Linked DNA regions of Homo sapiens: region 2 is linked to region 1. The links are contacts of gene promoters, found by promoter capture Hi-C in blood cells and fetal thymus (Javierre and others, 2016). All regions are on one chromosome and are shown on one strand. Each heading gives the region's core, a stretch centred on a gene start or on the middle of the fragment in contact. The rest is flanking DNA. Distances are from core to core; before and after follow the strand shown.

The links. Contacts are between HindIII fragments. The CHiCAGO score rates a contact against its expected background, and 5 or more counts as called.
Region 2: a contact is called between a fragment that was not itself captured here and the fragment with the promoter of IGFL1 in region 1, in 2 of 17 cell types (M1 macrophages and M2 macrophages). The highest score is 7.9, in M1 macrophages.

What each region holds. Positions count from the first base shown.
Region 1 is chr19:46,226,473-46,232,905 of GRCh38, reverse strand. It overlaps IGFL1 (IGF like family member 1), which reads right to left and starts at 3,164. Exons shown (of 4, transcript NM_198541.2): 1 at 3,107-3,164; 2 at 2,745-2,798; 3 at 2,389-2,632; 4 at 1,663-2,085. The coding sequence starts at 3,131. The coding sequence ends at 2,076. RefSeq lists an enhancer at 2,617-3,816. The HindIII fragment of the contact is 5,684 bases long and covers 1,047-6,433 here.
Region 2 is chr19:45,945,488-45,951,920 of GRCh38, reverse strand. The region is part of intron 3 of NOVA2 (NOVA alternative splicing regulator 2); the gene reads left to right. Among named protein-coding and RNA genes, the nearest start is that of NOVA2, 25 kb to the left of the region's middle. The HindIII fragment of the contact is 1,242 bases long and covers 2,643-3,884 here.

The sequences.
Region 1 (6,433 bases), core at 1,915-4,414:
GGGTCTGTCGCTTTCTAGGCGCCAGCACAGCTCTCACGCCCTGCAGAATCCTAGCATGGGGAGGCAGAGCTCACCCAGCATTGGGTGTGCTCCCACTGATAGGCCCTGAGCTAGGGTTAGGCCTGTGAGACAGGGCATTTGCCCTGTGATGCCAGATTGCTGCCATGGTGATGTGCCGGGTCCAGAGTTCCCGCACGTGCAGACACCTGGCCACCGGGCCCGTCTGGGGCCACTGAGGCGAGGCTGCCAACTGTGGGGCGATGATGGAACCCTTTGAGTCAGAATCTGCCCAGGGAAGCCATCGGGCAGTCCGGGAGCCTGGGTTGGCCTCGGATGACTGAGGCCCAGGGACGCAGGCCCTGTGCAGACCCCCTGGCCCTGAGAAACAGGACCCAGAAAGGTGGTGGCTTCTTTGACTTTGGGGAATCCAGGTTGGTGGAGACCCTAGGGCTGAACGCTCCCTAAGGAACCTGCTTCTGGGTTGGGTAAGCAGCAGCGTGGCCCCCTCCCTGCGATCTATTCCACATCAGCACTGGCCACGAGGGTTTGTCCCTGGCACAGGGCCTGAAGAATGTGCTTCAGGTGCCTTGGCCAGCCTTTGCTTCCTCCTTCCAAACCCGAGGGCTCCTCCATAGCCCACATCCTCCACACCCCGCCCCACCCACTCCCTCTCAGGCTCCAGCTTTGGCCCAAAGTCAGACTAAGTGTGGCATCTCTGGGCGTTGGACCTGCCCAGTGGGTTTTCCACGATCCCAGGGGACGCGTGCCTGGGATGGGTGTGTGGCAGATCAGGTTTCTGTTAGCGACCAGAAGAGTCAGTTTCCACTAAACTTTATTTTTGATGAATGCATACCTTAAACATTATAGAACTGGATAAACTAGTGCCTGGGGATGAGGGCGGGAATGAGAAAACAAGCCCATTAAAACCCCAGCTGGGTTTTCTCAGACCCTAAAATCTGATCAAATAATAATAGCATTCTTCCACATATTCCTCATACTGGGGTCCATTTAAGATTAAGAAACTTTCCAAGACTCTGGAGAAAGCTTTCCAGACCCTGGACACTAGTTAAAGATTAGATATTGATAAGAATGAAACACGCTGTCTTGCAGGTGCACTCCGCACATAGGCGTGGAGCTTAGAATGCATATAAGCACTAGAAAAAGAAGTTTGTAGCTTTGAGTTGGTCTGGTAAGCTACTCTGACCTTCTCCCCATAGCCAGTTGGAGAAAGAACCTCCGTTCTTTCCCAGTCTGTCTGCATCTCCTTAACGTACATCAAGAACAAACAGCCGGGTCCTGTTCTGTCCCAGAACTGGTGGGAGAGGGAGTGCCTCTCCGAAGCCCTCTCGCGATCCCCACCTCCTCCCCACCCCACCTGGGCTGCTCCCGATGTTGTGACTGGGTTCAGGGAGCCATGGGGTGGTGGAGGCTGGTGTAGGAGGGTGGCCCCTGTCCCAGGTGCGGCCAGGGTCCTAGTCACCGAGCACAAATAACAAAATAATAAATTTAAAAATAAATGGAAAAAGAGAAAATAAGTGTGTGCACGAACAGAACAAATGGAAAGGCCCAGATGCCTCAGGGTGACAGAGAGAAGGGGCCCCACGTCACCCTCTGTGACCCCTTTCAACAGTCCAAGCTCTCTAATTCATGAATTCTACAGCATTCATTTATAAAGTACATAAATTTATTATGATCCTGTGCTTTGCTCCTGGATAGAAGAGAACTTGAGATGATGGAAAATCTCACAGAAGGGTGAAGGGTTCCCCAGCCAGCCTTGGGGTGGTGCCGGGTTGATGTTGGCCATAGGGGTCATCAGGAGGGTTCAGAGTCCCTGGGCCCCCATCAGCACACGCATCTCATGCTGTCCAGAATTCTAGAAGGGGACCTGTGGGCCTCCTCAGGGCAGCTGCAGGGTGGGCCTCAGACAGGTCACAGAATGAAGTGGGCAGTTGAGTGTGTGTTTCTCTGGCCCCCAAACAGCCACTCAGCATCCCAGATCTCAGGTAACACCAGCCTCTTTCTCCAGGCCCACCCAGGAAGGAGAATCCAGGAGTCATCGTTCCCCTGATGTTCCATTAGCTGACACTGGAGATAGTGACAGAGAGAGACACTGAGCGGGACAGAGATGGCCAGAGATGGGGGCGAGACTGAACATGGGCAGAAATGAGGACAGGAGAGCCAGGAGGAGAGGACAGCGGGGTAGAGAGAGTGAGATTCTGAGAGGGAAATAAAAATGGATGGAGACACAGGTGTAGGGAAAGGGAGAGGTGGATTGAATAGAAGCAGGGGGCAGAGACAGGGAGACAAGGAGAATGGGGGCTCCACCCAGGGCAGAACAGGCATGCAGCTACCCTGCACCCACAATCCCACGGAGGGGACAGGACTCACCTGCGACAAAGCCTGTCATCCGAGGTCCGGGCTGAGTCGCAGTTCTGGTTTATCAGCTTCACCATGAAGGTCCAGGGGCAGCACTGCTCAAAGCAGACTCTGAAGGTGCAGTTTCCACACGTCTGGGTCCTGGCCAAGGGCACGACGGCATCATCATAGCAACAGTGCTGCAGGGGGTCGTAGAACTTGTCCCCACATCTCTTGTGTGGCTGGCACAGCATCAGGTAAGGAGTCATGGGGGCCACTGGAGGAGACAGAGCTGGTGAGATCCAGGAGGTAGTGGCAGGTGGGTCCCAGCCTGGGGTCCCCTGGAAGGTGTACCCCTCCTCCAGCTTCCCAAACACTCCTGGGCTCACCTGGGGCTCCGTGTGAGCAGAGGAGCCTGGAGATGCAGAAAATGGCAAAGACAGCTGTGGGAAAGGGAAAGGGAAGATGGGGTGAGTGGACAGCCACAGATATGACTGGCACTGACATTTAGAAGAAGACTGGGTGGAACCAGGGCTCGGTATGGCTTTGAGCAGCTCAGGGACTGAAACAGGGCTGTGGATGGGGCTGATCTGGGCACTATGGATGGGGAATTGCTGTGAGCAATTCACGCCTGGAGATTTGGCTGGGCATGGGAACAGGGATGAGGTGTAGTTTGGGGTAGGGAGAGAGCCCTGGTGGTGGCTGAGATTGGAGATGGGCTCAGGTGGGAATGGGGTCCTGTCCTCCTTACCTACGATGCAGCCTCGGGGAGCCATGGCTCTGGGTGGTTGCAGTGGAGTGAGGAGGGGATCAGCAGATCTCAGCCACTCCTTTTATCCCATATTTCTAGTGGAGCTGGTGATGTCATGGCATTTCCTGCCCTCCTGCAAGTCCTGCAGAGACAGGCTGGGTCCTTGGGCAGGAGAGGTGCCAGGCAGGGTACGTGTCATTGTAGCTTTGATCTCACCTTTGTAATCAGGAGAGAAGCGGTACACCCTCCACCTTCTCTGTGCTATGTGCCCCAATCGTCCCCCACACTGAGTCCTCTGGAAAATAGGAAGGTTCAGGATGCTCCTGGCATTAACACTCTCCGACACTCACATGTCCACACAGCGATTCCACAGGATCCTACTGAGCTATGACTTTCCTCAGTTTCCTTGGGACATTGCTAACCCATGACATCATTTCAAAGGGTCCCATTAGGTCCCAACCTCACAACCGAAACACATGGTCAAGAATCCAGTAACTTCTCAGTCACCTGCAGCTCATGGCATTCAGGTGGGAGAGACTGTGTGACTCAGGCACCTGACTTTCACAGGTTTGGAAGGTGGGAGTGGAGCTGGCGGGACCCCTGGGACTCAACACTCCTCTGGGGGCTCTTCATCTCCTTCTCTGTCTCATTAATGGTCATTTACCCAGGACAGGTCCACTTGGGAGCCTACATGTCCCAGGCTTCGTGTCAGACACCAGTGATGCAGTGCTGAGTAGAAAACGCAAAGTCAGTGTCTTCGTGACGTTCATGACAGTGAGAGGAGAGAGAGAGAGAGAGAAGGTAGGAGAATAAAACTCCTGATTTTGGTTATTGTCGTTCTTGTGTTTGGTGTCATTATCACTGTGAAGTTCTGGTGGAGAAATTCCACATCCCCCCCTGAGATTCTCAAAGGTGTTTTTCCTTAATGTGCTTTTTCAGAGGGTTGGGTTGTGATTTTCCCTGAGAAGAGCCATCTTGGGGTCAGGATGTGAGGACAGAGGGGAAGGAGCTGTTTTGGGTCAGTTCTGTGCCCCCCTACCCCTGCCCAGCTTCTGCAGGAATTCCTCCGCTCAAGCTCACAGGCCACACATGGCATGGACAAGCCGTTCTCCTCCGGGCCAGGCAAGGTGACCTGTCACCCTCTAGGCACCATGGCTGGCTCCTAGCAGGGCATGGATGTGGTTAGATTTGTGTGTGTGGAAGATCCTGCATCTGTGTTCCTGGGGAGCACGGATAGGGGCTTCTCTCTGGAGGCAGGAGACACAGGAAGAGGCTGCAGAGAAATGACTTCAATAAATACCAGAGTGCTCAGCACCCACCTTCTCCCTCGACAGAGCAGACCCTGCTTCCAGCACCATCTCCCTGTCTGCTCCCTTGGCCTCTGTTCCTTGCTGCTGTGGGGTACAGCAGTGTTTTCTAGGACACAGATTAGGATGTGCTAGTAGCATGGAAAATCAATTTACTTGGGCATAAACAATGTTATTTTTAAGTGAAGAAATGGGTTAGAAAATGGGACAGTGTGCATTCAACAGAATGCTGTGCTCAACTGTTTATGACACTTTAAAAAAAATTATTTATTTTTTTGAGATGAAGCCTTGTTCAGTTGCCCAGGCTGGAGTGCAGTTGCACGATCTTGGCTCACTGCAACCTCTGCCTGCCAGGTTCAAGTGATTCTCCTGCCTCAGTCTCTGAGTAGCTGGGATTACAGATGCCCGCCAACACACCCGGCTAATTTGTGTATTCTCCATAGAGATGGGGTTTTACCGTATTTGCCAGGCTGGTCTTGAACTTCTGACCGCAAGTGATCTGCTCACCTCAGCCTCCCAAAGTGCTGTGATTACAGGTGTGAGCCACTGCGCCCAGCCTGTTTAGGACCCTCTTATTGGGACTGTGTATATTCCAAGTAATGATAGAATATTATTATATTGTTCTATCGTATGATATTATTATATGATAGCATAGCACATATCTAGAACTAGATATCTAGTTTCTGGAGGGAGTCACAGCCAAATGGTGAGGACACTTGGGAGCACAGAAGCCTCCAGGATCATCTCCTTCTTCTCTAAGAGCCACTGACATGTCTCCCCTTTGATGTCTTCCATAAAGGGGTAGAGTTCTCAGGTCCTTGGTTCCAGGCATTTTCTGGGAGGCTGCAGTGGAGCCCTGCACTGGTCTTACTGTCTCTACCAAGAAGAGGCAAGGCTGCCTGCATATGAGCCAGAGTGAGAGAGTGGAGCACCTTCCCCAGGGCAGGGGCAAGGTGGGCACCTCTGAGGAGGGAGGAGTCCAGCTGCTCCTTCCTGGCCTCTCAGAGCAGCTGAGTCAATGCAGCATCTGGAAGGTAGAGGGAGATTTTAGCAGATCATGGAGGCCTCGGAGGCTGGGACAGTGTGAGGCCAGTGGGCACCCGTCCAGGGCTCCCTGGACACTAAGAGCCCCCAATTAGACATGAGGAGGCTTTAGGGTCAGTCAGCCCTGCGTTCAAACCCTGTCCCTGCACCTTCCTAAGGTGTCAGAAGAGTCTGTGCACACAGCCATGTCCAATCCCGCCACCAATCCCTCGGAGTCCCCCTTCCTAACATGCCCACTCTGGAGCGTCCACGTCTGGGCATGGGTCTGTCTTCTGCCTGGGGACCCAGATGTGTGAGGTGGGACCAGGATTTCCCAGTGGAAGCCTGTCCTCAAGTGTCTGGAGAAGATCCCAGGTGTCTGGACAGTAAATGTAAACCCTGACCTCAAACGACCATCACCATCATTCTCTCACCCACTTCCTGGATCCAAGCAGGACACGGGCTGAGGTTCTGCTGCTGGTTGTCAGTGACACAGGCTGGGCCAGGACCCAGGTCTCCTGACCTCCTACCCAAGGGCTGCCAAACTCCCTAGGCCTGGCCCCTCTGGGAAGGGCAGGAAGGCTCTGTTCACAGACACTCCTGGAAGACACCCAGGTCTGATGTTCCCAGGGCTCCCGGGCAGGGCTGGCAGATCTTGGCTTCTGGAATGTGAAACCCCGGAGGACGCTGGCATTTCCCGCTGTCAGCAGCTCCCCCACTGCTTGCCCTTTTACGCCAGGAAAAAATAGGAATCTCCCTCCTGGCAGCTTTGGAGTGGCCTTTCCATCTGCCCTCAGGGAAGCCCTGCTAGGAAACAGGTGGGAATGAGGTGGAATTTCAGGTGTGCAGGTATGTAGAAGGAAGGCCGGGTTTCCCCAGGCCGGAGGCCCCTCTGCTGCTGGCTGACAAGGACGGGTCTGTGTGAGTCATTTTCTCCAAACACAATGTTGGGATTTCAGAAGCTCCCTGCAAGGGGGGTTTCTGTTGACCAAAGCCT
Region 2 (6,433 bases), core at 2,014-4,513, 280 kb after region 1:
CACTTTGGGAACATGAACATAGTGCTACCACATCTTCCAAATTTTTCAAAAGAAGCCATAAATTTTTTAGATCAACTGACTTTAAAATGCTTTATTATTATTATTATTTAATATATATTAGTCTGAGGCAGAGTCACACTCTGTCACCCAGGCTGGAGTGCAGTGGTATGATCTAGGCTCACTGGAGCCTCGACATCCCAGGCTCAAGCGATCCTCCCACCTCAGCCCACTGAATAGCTGGGACTACAGGTGAACACGACCACGCCTGGCTAATTTTTTTTTCTTTTCTTTTTTTTTTTTTTGAAACGGAGTTTTGCTCTTGTTGCCCAGGATGGAGTACAATGGCCTGGTCTCAGCTCACTGCAACCTACAACTCCCGGGTTCAAGTGATTCTCCTGCCTTGGCCTCCCAAGTAGCTGGGATTACAGGCACCTGTTACCATGCCTGGCTAATTTTTTGTATTTTTAGTAGAGATGGGGTTTCACCATGTTGGCCAGGCCAGTCTCGAATTCCTGACCTCAGGTGATCTGCCTTCCTTGGCCTCCCAAAGTGCTGGGATTACAGGCATGAGACACTGCGCCCGGCCCCTGGCTAATTTTTGTATTTTTTGTAGAGACAGGATTTCACCATGTTGCGGGCTGTTCTCTAACTCCTGGACTCAAGCAATCCACCCGCCTCAGCTCCCCAAAGTGCTGGGATTACAGGCGTGAGCCATTGCGCCAGGCCAACTCTGCTTTTAAAACACTATGAAGGTCAAAAAAACATGTATGGCTGTAGGCTGACTGGGGCCTGAGGATCACCAGATTGCCACTTCTGGGTTATACCAGTGGCTCTCACCCCTAGCTGATATCTGAGTCATCTGGGTAGCTTAAAATGCAGATTCATGGGTCCTGTCCAGAACCACTGAATCAATATTTCTGGTAAGGCTTAGGAATCTGAGCATAAACTCTGGCCCGGGATCAGATCCTGACTCTACTGCTCATTACCTGTGAAAGAACTTGTGCAAGTTCTTTCTTTGTGCCTCCATTTCCCAATCTAGAAAATGGGGTAATAATAACACCTATCTTAGGGTTGTGGTGGAACCTAGATAAGTTACTCTATTAAACTGTTAGCTGTTGATGCTGCTTTTGTTGTTATTGTTGGTGGTGGTAGTAGTAGTATTTGCAAATTTCCATGGGCTTGCAAATCACTGGGGCAGATGGTCTCTGGTCCTTCTGGCTCTAAAACTTCAACAGTTCTATGGCTCTGTGATTCCAAGATTCTAAGCATGTATTATCTAAGATTCTACTGTTCTAATGTCCTGGGATTCCAAGATTCTATGAGTCTGCATCTGCAGATCTTTCTAAGATGCTGTAGTTCTACAATTCAGGGTCTATCATGAAGGCAGCTGCCATTGGCTTAGCGCTTCCCATGTGCCAGGCACTGGGCATCACTTTAGTCATTGAATGTTTCCCATAACAGGCCGGGAGCAGTGGCTCATGCCTGTAATTCCAACACTTTGAAAGGCCGAGGTGGGTGGATCACCTGAGGTCAGGAGTTCGAGACCAGCGTGGCCAACATGGCAAAACCCCATCTCTACTAAAAATACAAAAAAATTAGCCGGGCATGGTGGTGCACACCTGTAGTCTCAGCTATTCAGGAGGCTGAGGCAGAAGAATCGCTTGAACCTGGGAGGCGGAGGCTGCAGTGAGCCGAGATCGCGCCACTGCACTCCAACCTGGGTGACAGAGCAAGACTGTAAAAAAAAAAAAAAAAAGAATGTTTCCAATAATAATATAGGGTAGGTGTGGTTATGCTAATACTGGAGATGAGAAAGGTAAGGCACAGAGAGGTGAAGGCATTTGCCTAAGGTCACACAGTTACTAAAGAATAAACTAGGAGGCTGGACGTAGTGGCTCATGCCTGTAATCTCAGCACCTTGGGAAGCCGAGGTGGGCGGATTACTTGAGGCCAGGAGTTCAAGACCAGCCTGGCCAACATGGTGAAACCCCATCTCTACTAAAAATACAAAAATCAGCCAGACATGGTGGCAGGCGCCTGTAATCCCAGCTACCCCAGCGGCTGAGGCAGGAGAATCACTTGAACCTGAGAGGCAGAGGTTGCAGTGAGGCAAGATCGCACCACTGCACTCCAGCCTGGCTGACAGAGCAAGACTTTGTCTCAAAAAAAAAAAAAAAAAAACAACCTACGATTTGGACCTTGCTGTGTTGTAGAAACAGCAACCCTGCTGACTGAGTGACTCCAGAGAGCAGGCTTCCAGTGTCTCACTGAATATTTGCACAAATCGTATGGATCGGGAATAGTATGCCCATTTTACAGATGTGGAAAAAGAGGCTCTGAGAAGTAAAGGGACTTTCACAGGCCACCAGCTAGGAGGTGGAAGAGGTAGAAATTTTCTTAAAACCTAACTTTATTTTTCCCACATGATTAACCCCTTGTCCTCAAACCTTTTCTTGGCCAATCTATCCTTCCTTCACTGCTCTAAAATACTGCATCACAGACTAAATACCACTCCTGGTTGTGGTTGTGAACATGCTGTTCCATCTTCTTGATTTGTCAGGCTGTTTGTTTTTCCTGGTGTTTTTTTTTTTTTTTTTTTGAAATAACAGCTCTGTTGAGCTATAATTCACATACTGTAAGCTTTACTGTTTAGAAGTGTACAGTTTAGTAGTTTTGTTGTATGTTCACAGAGTCGTACATCAGTTACCATCTAATTCCAGAACATTTTCATCATGCCAAAAAGAAACCTTGTGCCCATGAGCAGTCACTCACCATTCCCCCAGATCCCAGTCTCAACGTCTTCCAGCCACTAATCTACTTTTGGTCTCTGTGGACTTGCCTATTCTGGATCTTTTATATAAACAGAATCATATAATATATGGTCTTTTGTGTCTAGCTTTTTTCACTTGATGTAATACTTTCGAGGTTTATCTATAGTTTAGCATGTGTCAAAACTTTACTCCTTTTTATAGACAAATAATGTTTCATTGTATGCATAGACCACATTTTGCTTGTCTGTTCATCAGTTGATAGACATTTGGGTTGTTTCTCCTTTTTAGCTATGATGAGTAATGCTTCTGAACATTCATGTACAAGTCTTTTTGTAGATATATATTTCCAGCTCTCGGGTAGATACCTAGGGTGGAATTGTTGGGACATATGATAAATCTATGTTCAACTTTTTGAAGAACTGCCAGACTGGTTTCCATAATAGCTGTACCGCAGATGTGGGATTTAAATCCAGCTCCATCCATGGGGATAACAATGACAATAATCATTTCTTTTTCTTTTCTTTTCTTTTTTCTTTTTTTTTTTTTTTTTGAGACAGAGTCTCCCTCCGTCCCCCAGGCTGGAGTGCAATGGCGCAATCTCGGCTCACTGCAAGCTCCCCCTCCCGGGTTCACGCCATTCTCCTGCCTCAGCCTCCCGAGTAGCTGGGACTACAGGCACCCGCCACCACACCTGGCTAATTTTTTTGTATTTTTAGTAGAGACGGGGTTTCACCGTGTTAGCCAGAATGGTCTTGATCTCCTGACCCCGTGATCCGCCCACCTTGGCCTCCCAAAGTTCTGGGATTACAGGCATGAGCCCCCACGCCCGGCTGACAATAATCATTTCTTGAGTGCTTCTATGGCTTATATTAATTGCACACATACATGATGCCCTATGCTTGGCACATAGTAGGTGCTCAGCACATGTCACTTATTTGAATGAATAGGTGATGACTTCACCCACAGGGCCAAGCAGAAACATAGGGACTGAGGTGTAATCTGCCAATGGTAGCAGTTGTGAGTCACCTGAAGGGCACTCACTCTCAGTTCCAGCTACTTGTGGTCATGCTTGGATTTCAAGCTCACCATTACATGCATAAGCTCAATTAAGCTTCATCATAGTCCTATGAGGAGGTCTGAATATCCTTGTTTTACAGATGAGAAAACTGAGTCTCAAAGAGGTTAGGTCCCTTGCCCAGCATCAGACAGGGAGCCAGGATTTAAACCCAAGCAGGTGACTCCAGAGTCCAAGGCAGCTTTTCAGGGATTTGTATGCACAGACTGCAAATGGGTAGCCTGGCTAGTACATTGCATTGTTTCTACTACACAAATCTTAGACATTTTTAAGAGATTGCCAACATTTAAAAACTAGGATGCTGGCCAGGTGTGGTGGCTCAGGCCTGTAATCCCAGTACTTTGGGAGGCTGAGACAGGCGGATCACGAGGTCAGGAGTTCAAAACGAGCCTGGCTAACATGTTAAAACCCCATCGCTACTAAAAATACAAAAATTAGCCGGGCGTGGTGGTGGGTGCCTGTAATCCTAGCTACTCGGGAGGCTGAGGCAGGAGAATCGCTTGAAACTGGAAGACGGAGGTTGCAGTGAGCTGAGATTGCGCCACTGCACTCTAGCCTGGGCAAAAGAGCGAAACTCCGTCTCAAAAAAAAGAAAAAAAAAAAACTAGGGTGCTTCACATTTTACAAATCAGCATTTCCAACTCATCTGGAAAATGTCCATCAGGCTTAGTTTGGCTGCCCAATTGCATAGTACTCTACCACTCCCCACCCCCACCAGGTAAGATACACCTGCTGCCTCCACCCATTCGCCTTCCTGCTTGGGCCTGTGGGCGTGTCATCCTTCAGTCTTCATCCGTCTATTTATTCGCTCACCCTTTGCTGAGTATCTACTGTGTTCCAGGCACTTTTCTAGGCGCTGAGAACCCAGCAGTAATAATACAGGCAAAAATCTCTAACCTCGTGGATTTGAAATTCTTTTACAGAGAAACACAAAATAAACAAGGAGATAAGTAAAATATAGAGGATGTTAGAGAGTGAAAAATACTATGAAGAAAAATAAAGCGGAGAAGAGGAAAAGGGAATGTTAGGGCATAGATTTTTTTCCTTTTTATTTTGAAAATGTTTAAGGAATAGTCCCCATACACTGCACTTAGATTCACCAGTTGTTAACATTTGTGCATGCATGAACACATGTGCATGCATGTGTGTACATGCGCGTGCGCACACACAATTTTTGTTGTGATTTTTTTTTTTTTTTTTTTAGACGGAGTCTTGCTCACTCACCAGGCTGGAATGCAGTGGTGCGATGATCTCGGCTCGCTGCAACCTCCGCCTCCCAGGTTCAAGCAATTCTCCTGTCTCAGCCTCCCAAGTAGCTGGAACTACAGGCGTGTGCCACCACGCCTGGCTAATTTTTGTATTTTTCATAGAAATGGGGTTTCACCATGTTAGCCAGGATGGTCTCGATCTCCTGACCTCGTGATCCGCCCGCCTTGGCCTCCCAAAGCGCTGGGATTACAGGCGTGAGCCACCGTGCCTGGCTGACCTCATGACTCTTTACTCCTAAGTACTTTAACATGTATCTTCCAAGGACAATCTCCTACATTATTGTATTACTGTCAACACACCTAAAAACAAAAACAAACAAACAAAAATGCTAATTCTATACTATTGTCTCATTGGAAAGTCCATATTCAAATTGCCCTAAAATATCTTTTATAGCTATAGAGGATTTTTCAATCTGAGATTCAGTCAACATTCGTGCTTTGCATTTGATTGTTACACCTCATTAGTCTCTTTTACTCTAGAATAAATGAAGATTCCTTTTTCTTGTTCACAAGGTCTGGCTCGATCACCCAGACTGGAGTGTAGTGATGCCATTTTGGCTCACTTCAACCTCCACCTCTTGGGCTCAAGCCATCCTCCCTTCTCAGACTCCCAAGTAGCTGGGACTACAGGCATGCACCACCACACTCAGTTAATTTTTGTACTTTTTGTAGAAATGAGGTTTTGCCATGTTGTCCAGGCTGTACAACTTGTGAGCTCAAGCGATCTGCCCACCTCAGCGTCCCAAAGTGCTGGGATTACAGGCATGAGCCACCATGCCTGGCCTTTTTTTTTTTTTTTTTTTAGATGGAGTCTCACTCTGTCATTCAGGCTGGAGGGCAGTGGCATGATCTCGGCTCACTTGAGAATCACTTGAACCCAGGAGGTGGAGGTTGCATTGAGCTGAGATGATGCCACTGCACCATAGCCTGGGTGACAGAGCAAGACTGTGTCTCAAAAAAAAAAAAAATAATAATAATAATAATAAAGTCAGGGAGACCAACAGGGAATAGAGCATGGGGAGCTCTGTCACAGCAACACCCCCTTTCTCCTACAAATATTTTGTCATGTTCACTTGACTCTCTGAAATACTATTCATATTCATATATACACATATAGACATATCTACACCCGTAAGACTTTTTGACAGCTTTATTGAGATATAATTCACATACAACTCACCCTTTTAAGGTACACGGCTCTAGGCCCAGTATGGGGGCTCATGCCTGTAATCCCAGCACTTTAGGAGGCCGAGGCCGGAGGATCACTTGAGCCCAGAAGTACAAGGCTGCAGTGAGCTCTGATCACACCACTGCACTCC